Regions from separate parts of the Homo sapiens genome. Here region 1 is linked to region 2. The links are contacts of gene promoters, found by promoter capture Hi-C in blood cells and fetal thymus (Javierre and others, 2016). All regions are on one chromosome and are shown on one strand. Each heading gives the region's core, a stretch centred on a gene start or on the middle of the fragment in contact. The rest is flanking DNA. Distances are from core to core; before and after follow the strand shown.

Region 1 (4,957 bases), core at 677-3,176, 480 kb before region 2:
ACACAGGCAGAGTCAAGGTTGTGGGGACCCCCAGGCCAATCCCACCCTCTCCCCTGGCCCTGCTGGGTGACGTGCGGGTGACTAACCCCATCTTATAGATAAGAAAGTAGGTGGAGGCCAGCACAGTGGTTCACACCTGGAATCCAGCATTTTGGGGAGACTGAGGTGGGAGGATCACCTGAGCCCAGGAGTTTGAGACCAGCCTGGGCAACATAGTGAGACCCCATCTCTAAAAAAAAAAAAAAAAAAAAATTAGCGAGGCATGGTGGCCTGCACCTGTGGCCCCAGCTACTTGGGAGGCTGAGGCAGGAGGATCACTTGAGCCTGGGAGGTCAAGGCTGCAGTGACTTATGATCATGTCACTGTACTCCAGCATGGAAGACAGAATGAGGCTCTGTCTCAAAAAATAATAATAAAAATATATAAAAATATAAAGAAAGCAGACAGGCTTGGAGACAGCTTTGCCCAAAGACACCCAGCATTTCAGTGGCAACGTGGGATTCGAACCTAGATCTGTGTGGCCCAGCACCTGTCTTCCTTGGGGGCTCCTTACAGACCCCTGAGGCAGAAATGAGGGCCAGGGGTTGAACATGGGGAGCACACTATAAGCCAGTCCAGTGTGGGAGGCTAAGAAGCTCTAGTCTCTGAAGATGGGCCTCCTGGCTCAAGGGGACCATCAGGGAAGGGCTTCCTCCCGCCAGCGCCACAAGGGTACCTGAAGCCCTGTCCTCCTGGGTCTCGGCCAGCGCAGAGTGGTCCTCCAGGGCCTGGCAGCTGCCCAGGCCGCCATCCAGCTCCTCCCAGGCTCTGGTTGTCATGGACATGGCTGGAGCAGCAGCAGGTCCCAGGCCAGGCTGGGAGGGGTGGGGAACAAGGTCTTGCATTTACTGAGTCTCTGCCACAGGCCTGGGCCTGACCTGGAGGTTCTGCGGACACCAACTAACAGGCCCCGTCCTCCCACCCCTCCTCACTCGGCAAATTCATACTCATGCCAGGCATGGCCCGGCGCCCACTCCAGGCATCTCTCTGACCCCGCATGCCTGCCCTGGGACCCCTCCCTACCGCCCAGCCTCACTGGGGTCCAGTATCCATCAGTACAGTAGCCCAGGCTGCTCTGGCCCAGAGAGGGCGGGAGCCCCTGCAGGACAACACAGCAATGAGTCCCAGACGCACCCCAAACCGAAACTCTTGGCCCCAGAGTCAGCTCATGTTCTCTGAGACCAGGGACTATTTTTATCTGGTGCCTGAGGCCAGCGGGACAGGCTAACAGGTGCCCCAGCCCCTCCCAGGCCTCTGCTCTCATGGGGTCTCCCTCTGGGCCACCCTGACTTGCCATTCTGGGCACCCACATCCTGCTGCGTGACCCTGTGAGTCTACAGGCTCAGGCCCCAGCAGCAGAACCATCCTGGCTCTGGTCGTGACAGGCCGGGGCAGGGGAGGAGGGTCCCGGTTGTGGTTGGGGGTCTTCTGATCCTGACACAGAGTACCCTGCCTTGTCCCACTAACTCTGTTCCCATAGGACAGATGAGGAAACCGAGGCTAGAGACAGTGCCATTGGCTGGAGGTCGCAAGGAGCTTCAAGTCAGACCCAAAGCTGTACTCTTCAGGGTCCCCATGGCCTCTGGCTGCTGGGATTAGGGTGTCCCTGTATCTAGGCTGAAAAACCACCCAGCCCTGGGGCTCCAAGACCTGGAAGGGGCCTATTGCGTGGCAGTGGGGGAGGGGCCCAAGAAGCATGGGAGGCTGGTGTGTGGCCCCTGGGTGTGCATGGGGGCAGCTCCAGGAATTGGGGACCCTTACAGTCCTCTGCAACACCCCTTCACACCCCGGGAGCCCACACCTCTGCCCGGGATTCCCCCAGCCTCACTTCCTTACCCCCGAGCCTCGCTTACCCGCCAGCCGCTTTGCTGAGCCTTGTGGACAGGACGGAGGATGGGGAGGGTGGCCCCGTGATGGACGGCAACAGGTGGCCAGAGACCGCGGGTGGGCCAATCAGCATGCCCGCTGGAGTGAGGTCACAGCCGGGGAGTCCCCCACCCTTCCCTGCCATTGCAGCAGGGCAGGGCATTGCTCCTACTCAGCACTCGCCACTGCCACCCAGGGAGACGTAGCGCCTGCAGCTGGGACTACAGGCGCGCACCATCACACCCGGTAAGTTTTCAATTTTTTTTGAGACGGAGTCTCGCTCTGTCTCCCAGGCTGGAGTGCGGTGGCGCGATCTCCACTCACTGCAAGCTCCGCCTCCCGGGTTCACGCCATTCCCGTGCCTCAGCCTCCCGAGTAGCTGGGACTACAGGCGCCCGCCACCGCGCCCGGCTAATTTTTTTTGTATTTTTAGTAGAGATGGGGTTTCACCGTGTTAGCCAGGATGGTCTCGGTCTCCTGACCTCGGAATCCGCCCACCTTGGCCTCCCAAATTGCTGGAATTACAGGCGTGAGCCACTGCACCCGGACTAATTTTTGTATTTTTTTTTCAGTAGAGACAGGGTTTCCCTATGTTGGCCAGGCTGCTCTCGAACTCCTGACCGCAAGTAATCCATGTGATCCGCTCGCCTTGGCCACCCAAAGTGCTGGGATCCCAGGCGGGAGCCCCTGCAATGCATTCATTCCTGCTGTTTAAAGCCACTGTATTTGGGGTCATTTGTTTCTGTGGCTCTGGCAGGCTCATACACTCGGAACTGCCTGCTCCCACACCGTCATGCAGAGAAACCTGACGCCTCTGCTCTGGAGAGGACCCGGGGTCTCTCAGCCCCCAAAGGCACATTCTAAGGCCTGCAGGCAGATGTTTGAGCCCTACCTGCAAAGCATGGTGACTCTGGGAGTCCTGAGGGAAGAGGGGAAGTGGATTTTGGTGGTGAGGCCTGTGTGTTAAAAATCCTGAGTGAATGGCCGGGCGCGGTGGCTCACGCCTGTAATCCCAGCACTGTGGGAGGCTGAGGCGGGCGGATCGCCTGAGGTCGGGAGTTTGACACCAGCCTGGCCAACATGGTGAAATCTTGTCTCTATTAAAAATACAAAAATTAGTGAGGCGTGATAGTGGATGCCTGTAATCCCAGCTACTGGGGAGGCTGAGGCAGGAGAATTGCTTGAACCCGGGAGGTGGAGGTTGCAGTGAGCCGAGATCACATCATTGCACTCCAGCCTGGGCGACAGAGTGAGACTCTGTCTCAAATAATAATAATAATTCTGAGTGAATAGGGCCTCCCCAGGAACTACCAAGAGACCCAGAAGGCCAGCCCGCCTTCAGCAAAGCAAGGGCTGGGGTTCCCTGGTCCCCACTCCCTCCGCTTTAGAAACGGCTCTCGGCCGGGCGCGGTGGCTCACGCCTGTAATCCCAGCACTTTGGGAGGCCAAGGCAGGTGGATCACAAGGTCAGGAGATTGAGACCCTCCTGGCTAACACGGTGAAACCCCGTCTCTACTAAAAATACAAAAAATTAGCTGAGTGTCGTGGCGGGCGCCTGTAGTCCCAGCTACTCGGGAGGCTGAGGCAGGAGAATGGCGTGAACCCGGGAGGCAGAGTTTGCAGTGAGCCGAGATGGCACCACTGCACTCCAGCCTGGGCGACAGAGCGAGACTCTGTCTCAAAAAGAAAAAAAAAAAGAAATGGCTCTCATTTTTTTCTGTATGACACAAGGCAGAGACAAACAGGAAACAAAGAGAAGCTGAAAGCAAAAACTGTAAAGCACCTGTCATCTTCCCGCCCCCAAACAGACACTGTTTAATAGTTTGACATGTTCTTTCCGCTGTTTGTAACTTGTGATTTTATTATTAGTTCCATATTTATTTTTATAAAGCTGGCATAATTAGCGAAGGGCTGAACATCTTGTTTGTAACCTAGATTTATTTTTTCTTCCTAAAAGTTTTTTTGTTGTTGTTGAGATGGAGTCTCTCTCTGTCACCCAGGCTGGAGTGCAATGGCGCGATCTCGGCTCACTGCAACCTCTGCCTCCTGGGTTCAAGCGATTCTCCTGCCTCAGCCTCCCGAGGACCTAGGATTACAGGCATGCACCACTGCGCCTGGCTAATTTTCATATTTTTAGCAGAGATGGGGTTTCACCATGTTAATCAGGCTGGTCTCAAACTCCTGACCTCAGGCGATCTGCCCACTCTGGCCTCCTGAAGTGTTGGGATTACAGGCGTGAGCCACAGTGCTTGGCCCCTCCTAAAAGTATATTACAGCTTGGCAGTTCCTCAAAAAGCTAAAATAGAATGACCATAAGATGCAGAAACTCTACTCCTAGGTATCTACGAAAAGGAATCCGAAGCTTGGACTCAGATATTTGCACACCCAAGTTCAGGGCAGCACGATTCTCCGCAGCCACATGGTGTAGGCAGCTCTAGCGTTCCATCCTCAGATACACGGATCAACACAGCGTGGCCCTTCCACACGGTGAAGTACGACACAGCCGTGAACAGGAACGAGGCTCTGACTGCGGCCATGGCGTGAATGCACTTTAAGGATGTCACGCTCGGTGAGAGGTGCCAGACACAGAAGGCCATGCTGTATGTGATCCCATTTCTATGAAATGTCCAGGACAGGGCCGGGTACAGTGGCTCATGCCTGTAATCCCAGCACTTTGGGAGGCCAAGGTGGGTGGATCACGAGGTCAGGAGATCGAGACCATCCTGGCTAACACGGTGAAACCCCGTCTCTACTAAAAATACAAAAAATCAGCCGGGCGTGGTGGCGGGCGCCTGTAGTCCCAGCTACTTGGGAGGCTGAGGCAGGAGAATGGCGTGAACCCGGGAGGCGGAGCTTGCAGTGAGCTGAGATCACGCCACTGCACTCCAGCCCGGGCGACAGAGCGAGACTCCGTCTCAAAAAAAAAAAAAAAAAAAAAAAGAAATGTCCAGGACAGGCCAATTCACAGAGACAGGAAGGGGATTTGTGGGTGCCGGGGCTGGGAAGGGGATGGGGAGTGATGGCTGATGGGGATGGAGCTTCATTTAGGGTG
Region 2 (5,064 bases), core at 2,223-4,722:
CATCCCCGGTTGAACGTTGAGATGAGACCACAGCCCAGGAGACACTGTGACTGCTGCCTTGTGAGCTCCTGAAGCAGTGCCCAGACCCCTGACTCACAGAAACTGTGAGATGATAAACGTCTGTAGTCCTAAGGTGCTCAGTTTGCTATAATTTGTTACGCAACAGTAGCTGACTGATATAGGAACCGAAGAGAGGCCATGCTTTCCAGCTTCAGGACAGAGTGTGCCCTACCTAGGTGGGTAGTCTGGTCTGATTATCAGGTGACAACCGACAAGTCCACCTGTTGGGAATCCCAGGTCTGGTCCAAACCCCTTGTTTGGCCGGTAGAGCACAGAGACAGAAAGTAACCAGTTCACAATCACACAGCAAATTCACTTCCTACTTTCCGTCACCCTTACAGCATCAAGGCCTTCACTGAACTTGGCATCAGTGTTGAAAATGCATCAGAGTCCCTTGGCCATAAGGTGCCAAGGGCTGCTGCTAGTGCCCAGGGAGCCCTTACCTTTTCCCTCACAGCGGGCAGCAGAGCGTTGAAGCACGTGGCCAGAAACACCCCTCCTCCAAAGGTGTTGCAGAGAGAGAGGATCTTTTTCGAGCGATGGGCCTTCTCAAAATCTGTCTCGATGATCTTCACGGGGAGCAGGGAGCCGAGCAGCATGAAGAAGAACACGCCCACCATGCACAGGATTTTGGCCACTAGCAATTTCACCATGGTGGCGGCTTGGGCTGCTCTGGTCACTGCAGGGCCAAACCATCTGTGGGCGCACACCCAAGTCCCACGATGTGCTACCGAGCCCAACCACACAGTTGGAGGCTCATGTCTCAGTCCAGCAACTGTGAACATCAGGGGCACTGCATTAGCTTTCTTTCTTTTTTCTTTTTTTTTTTTTAGACAGAGTCTCGCTCTGTTGCCAGGCTGGAGTGCAATGGTGCAATCTCCGCTCACTGCAACCTCCGCTTCCTGGATTCAAGCAATTCTCCTGCCTAGTAGCTGGGATTACAGACACGCGCCACCACTCCCAGCTAATTTTTTTTGTATTTGTAGTAGAGACGAGGTTTCATCATGTTGGCCAGGCTGGTCTCGAACTCCTGACCTCGTGATCCGCCTGCCTCGGCCTCCCAAAGTGCTAGGATTATAGGCGTGAGCCACTGCACCTGGCCAGTTCTTCAGTTTTGGAACTCGGACTGGCTCTCTTTGCTCCTCAATCTGCAGACAATGTATTGTGAGACCCTGTAATCGTGTGCAATTAATACTTAATAAACTTCCCTTTATATATATAACTATTCCATTAGTTCTGTCCCTCTAGAGAACCCTGACTAATACACTGTCTCAAAAAAAGAAAAAAGTTCATCAAAATTAAAAAAAATCCAGGCTGGGTGTAGTGGCTCACACCTGCAATCCCAGAACTTTGGGAGGCCGAGGTGGGTGGATCACCTGAGGTCAGGAATTCGAGACCAGCCTGGACAACATGGTGAAACGCCGTCTCTACCAAAAATACAAAAATTAGCCGGCCGTGGTGGCAGGCACCTGTAATCCCAGCTACTCTGGAGGCTGAGGCAAGAGAATCGCTTGAACCCAGGAGGCAGAGGTTGCAGTGAGCCAAGATGGCACCACCGCACTCCAGGCTGGGCAACAAGAGCAAAACTCCATCTCAAAAAAAAAAAAAAAAAAAAACTAAATAAAATACAAAATTCCGCTCCTCAGTCTCCCTGGCCATATTTCAAGCGCTCAGTAGTCACACAAGCCTACTTGACTTCTGTGGTTACCGTATTTGACAGCAAAGGGAACACTCTCATCACTGCAGAACATGCTATTGGATGGTGGTGGTCCATGGCTTCCCCATGCCCCGAAATAAAGTCTAAACTCTGTACCCTGAGGCTGAAGCTCTGCATGACAAGCTCCTGCCTCGCCTCGGCCCTCACTGGTCCTTTCTGTGCCAAGCTTGCTCGTGCCTCAGGACCTCTGCATGGGTTCTCCTCTCTCCACCTGGAACACTGCTCTCTTTCCCCTGACCTTCCAGCGAGGCCTCCTTCTTCTTTCTTGCTTCTCTGCATCCAGGACCCCTCAAAAGGGCCTCCCTCGGTTGGGAGTGGTGGCTCACACCTGTAATCTCAGCACTTTGGGAGGCTGAGGTGGGCAGATCACCTGAGGTCGAGAGTTCGAGACCAGCACCTGAGGTCGAGAGTTCAAGACCAGCCTGGCCAACACAGTGAAACACTGTCTCTACTAAAAATACAAAAATTAGCTGGGTGTGGTAGTGGGCACCTGTAATCCCAGCTACTTGGGAGGCTGAGGCAGGAGAATCACTTGAACCCAGGAGGTGGAGGTTGCAGTGAGCCAAGATCAAGCCATTGCACTCCAGCCTGGGTGACAGAGTAAGACTCTGTCTCAAAAAAAAAAAAAATTAGCTGGGCATGGTGGTACGTGCCTGTAATCCCAGTTACTCGGGAGGCTGAGGCAGGAGAATTGCTTCAACCCAGGAGGTGGAGCTTGCAGTGAGCCGAGATCGCGCCATTGTACTCCAGCCTGGGCTGCAGAGCAAGACTCCGTCTCAAAAAAAAAAAAAAAAAAAAAAAAAGGGCCTCCCTCTCTGCCCCTGGCTGACTCCTGCCCTAAACCATATCCCTGTACCCGCCGGAAGGCCTGCTGCAGAACAGATACTCAAAAACCGCTGGCTGAACACATGGACGAGGGGAAGCGTGTGGCCACTGATAAGGGCCGCATTTTACCTGATGCAATGGGCCAAAGTGAAGTCGGTTTCACCCTGGACCCCAAAATGTCACCGTTCTTAGGAGGAATCTCAGCTCCTCCCCTGTCCTTGAGTTTTCCCCAACTGGGTTTTCTCCCCCACCATCAGCCCCAAGCGCCTCATGGCCCCGCTACCTCACTGCATTCAGGTCTTCGGGTCACTGCTCAGATGTCTCCACTCAGAGCTCTCCCCGCCCCCTTCCCTGGTGTTATTTTCTTTTATTTTGTGCTACAGAGGGAGCTAGGAATTACATTATTTTAAGTCATTTAAAGTCGTCCCTCCCCCCCGGCGGTGAGCTGGGCGGGACCAGGCTGTCTGTCTTGCTCAGGGCCAGCTGCACCCAGCGCAGAGCCACCCAGGCACACAGTAGGCGCCCAATAAAGACCTGTCCGGCATCTGGATACCTCAGTCTGTACAGTGAAGGTGAGGGTGGCCTGCACGCTCTCAAACCGGAGGCTGCTCGGGCCGGGATGAGGAGGGCACGGGCTCATTCATTCAATCAGCACTTATTGAGCGCCTTCTGTGTGCCTCGCGCTACCGGGCACCGGAGACGGGCCTCGGCTAACGTGCGGGTAGAGTCCAACAGACCCCCGGCCGCTCAGCGCCGCCCCGCCCCGCCGCCCCAGGTCCTCTCTCTGCCCGCACCTACCTCCCGGGGGCCCCTCGTCCGCCGACTGGCGCCGCTGCACGCCCAACGGCCGCGCAGTCTCGACCCCACAGACGCGGCCCGGAGAGGCCCCGCTCGGCGCGGCTGGTCCACGCCCCGCCCACGCCCCTGCCCATTGGCCTCCCCGAGACCCGCTGGCAGAACTTTCCATACTATTGGCTGCGAAACCTGCCACTCATATGCGACTCCACCTCTCCTACCGGCACAGGAAAGGGGTTTCCTCCCGCTGAGCGGCGGGCGCAGCCACCAAGCGGCCCCGGCGGGAAACCCGGATTGGCGAGGAACGGTTCCGGCAGGGTTGGGTTTCCAGAGCTGTCCAGGGGCGCCTGGTGCTGAATCCCGCTTGGAAAGAGGCTTGGAGGTGGATGGGAAGGGATTTCCAACGGAGGCGGCTCCTCTCTCAGCGTCCTCGCTGCTGATCCCCTTACCGACGGCTGAAGAAGCAGATTCATCCCTTCAACAAATCTCTGTTGATAGGCAGGAGGAGTAAGTCCAAGAGATCGACTGTACATCATGGTGGCTACAGCTCGTAACAATGCATTGCATACTGCAAAATTGCTAAGAAAGTAGATGTTACATGTTCAAACCATGAAAAAATAAGTATAGGAGGTAACGCGTAAGTTAAAAACCAAATCTTGGCAGGGCGCAGTGGCTCACACTTGTAATCTCAGCACTTTAAGAGACCGAGGCGGGAGGATCGCTTGAGTCCAGGAGTTCAAGGCCAGCCTGGGCAGCATAGTGAGACCCCATCTCTAAAAAAAAAAAAAAGGTTTTTTTTGAGACAGAGTCTCGCTCTTGTCACTCAGGCTGGAGTGCAATGGCGCGATCTTGGCTCACTGCAACTTCCGACTCCCGTGTTCAAGCGATTCTCCTGCCTCAGCCTCCCGAGTAGCTGGGATTATAGGCGTGTGCCACTATGCCGGCTAATTTTTGTGTTTTTAGTAGAGACGGGGTTTCACCATGTTGGCCAGGCTGGTCTTGAACTCCTGACCTCAGGTGATCCTCTTACCTTGGCCTCCCAAAGTGCTGGGATTACAGGCATGAGCCACTGCGCTTGGCCTGATGACTTGATTCTAACAAATAGAAAATGGCAAATGAATGGGATGTCATTCTGCGATTAGGCTATGAGAGATTGTGACTTCTGTTTTGCCAGCAGAGCCTGTCTCTCGCCTTCTCAGCCTACGTGTCTTGACAAAGCAAGCTAAGATGCTGGAGAGATCCAGAGGGAAAGGAACTGAGGGTGTCCTCCAGCCAACAGTCAGCAAGGCAATGAGACCCTCAGCACAAGCGTCCATAAGGAACCAAATGCTACCAACAGCCATGAACGTGATCATGGAAGAGGGTCCTGCCCCAGTTGAGCCTTTGGATGACTGCTTCACTTCAATTGCAGCCTTTGAAACACCCTAAAACAGGGCTGCATGTGGTAGCTCATGCCTATAATCCCAGCACTTTGGAAGGCCGAGGTAGGCAGGTCACTTAAAGTCAGGAGTTTGAGACTAGCCTGGCCAACACGGCAAAACCCCATCTCTACTAAAAATACCAAAATTAGCCAGGCATGGTGGCGGGCACCTGTAGTCCCAGCTACTAAGGAGGCTGAGGCATCAGAATCACTTGGACCCAGGAGGCAGAGGTGACAGCGAGCTGAA

What was found. The method cuts DNA at HindIII sites, captures the fragments that hold promoters and counts their contacts. A CHiCAGO score of 5 or more calls a contact.
Region 1: a contact is called between the fragment with the promoter of JSRP1 here and the fragment with the promoter of SLC39A3 in region 2, in 3 of 17 cell types (total B cells, naive B cells and fetal thymus). The highest score is 5.6, in total B cells.

Annotation. Positions count from the first base shown.
Region 1 is chr19:2,254,491-2,259,447 of GRCh38, forward strand. JSRP1 (junctional sarcoplasmic reticulum protein 1) reads right to left here and starts at 1,927. Exons shown (of 7, transcript NM_144616.4): 1 at 1,893-1,927; 2 at 716-854. The coding sequence starts at 824. RefSeq lists an enhancer at 1,602-1,681. The HindIII fragment of the contact is 8,991 bases long and covers 1-4,265 here.
Region 2 is chr19:2,736,545-2,741,608 of GRCh38, forward strand. SLC39A3 (solute carrier family 39 member 3) reads right to left here and starts at 3,473. Exons shown (of 3, transcript NM_144564.5): 1 at 3,401-3,473; 2 at 504-835. The coding sequence starts at 713. RefSeq lists silencers at 2,569-2,836, 3,245-3,644 and enhancers at 2,955-3,004, 3,705-3,754. The HindIII fragment of the contact is 5,051 bases long and covers 1,942-5,064 here.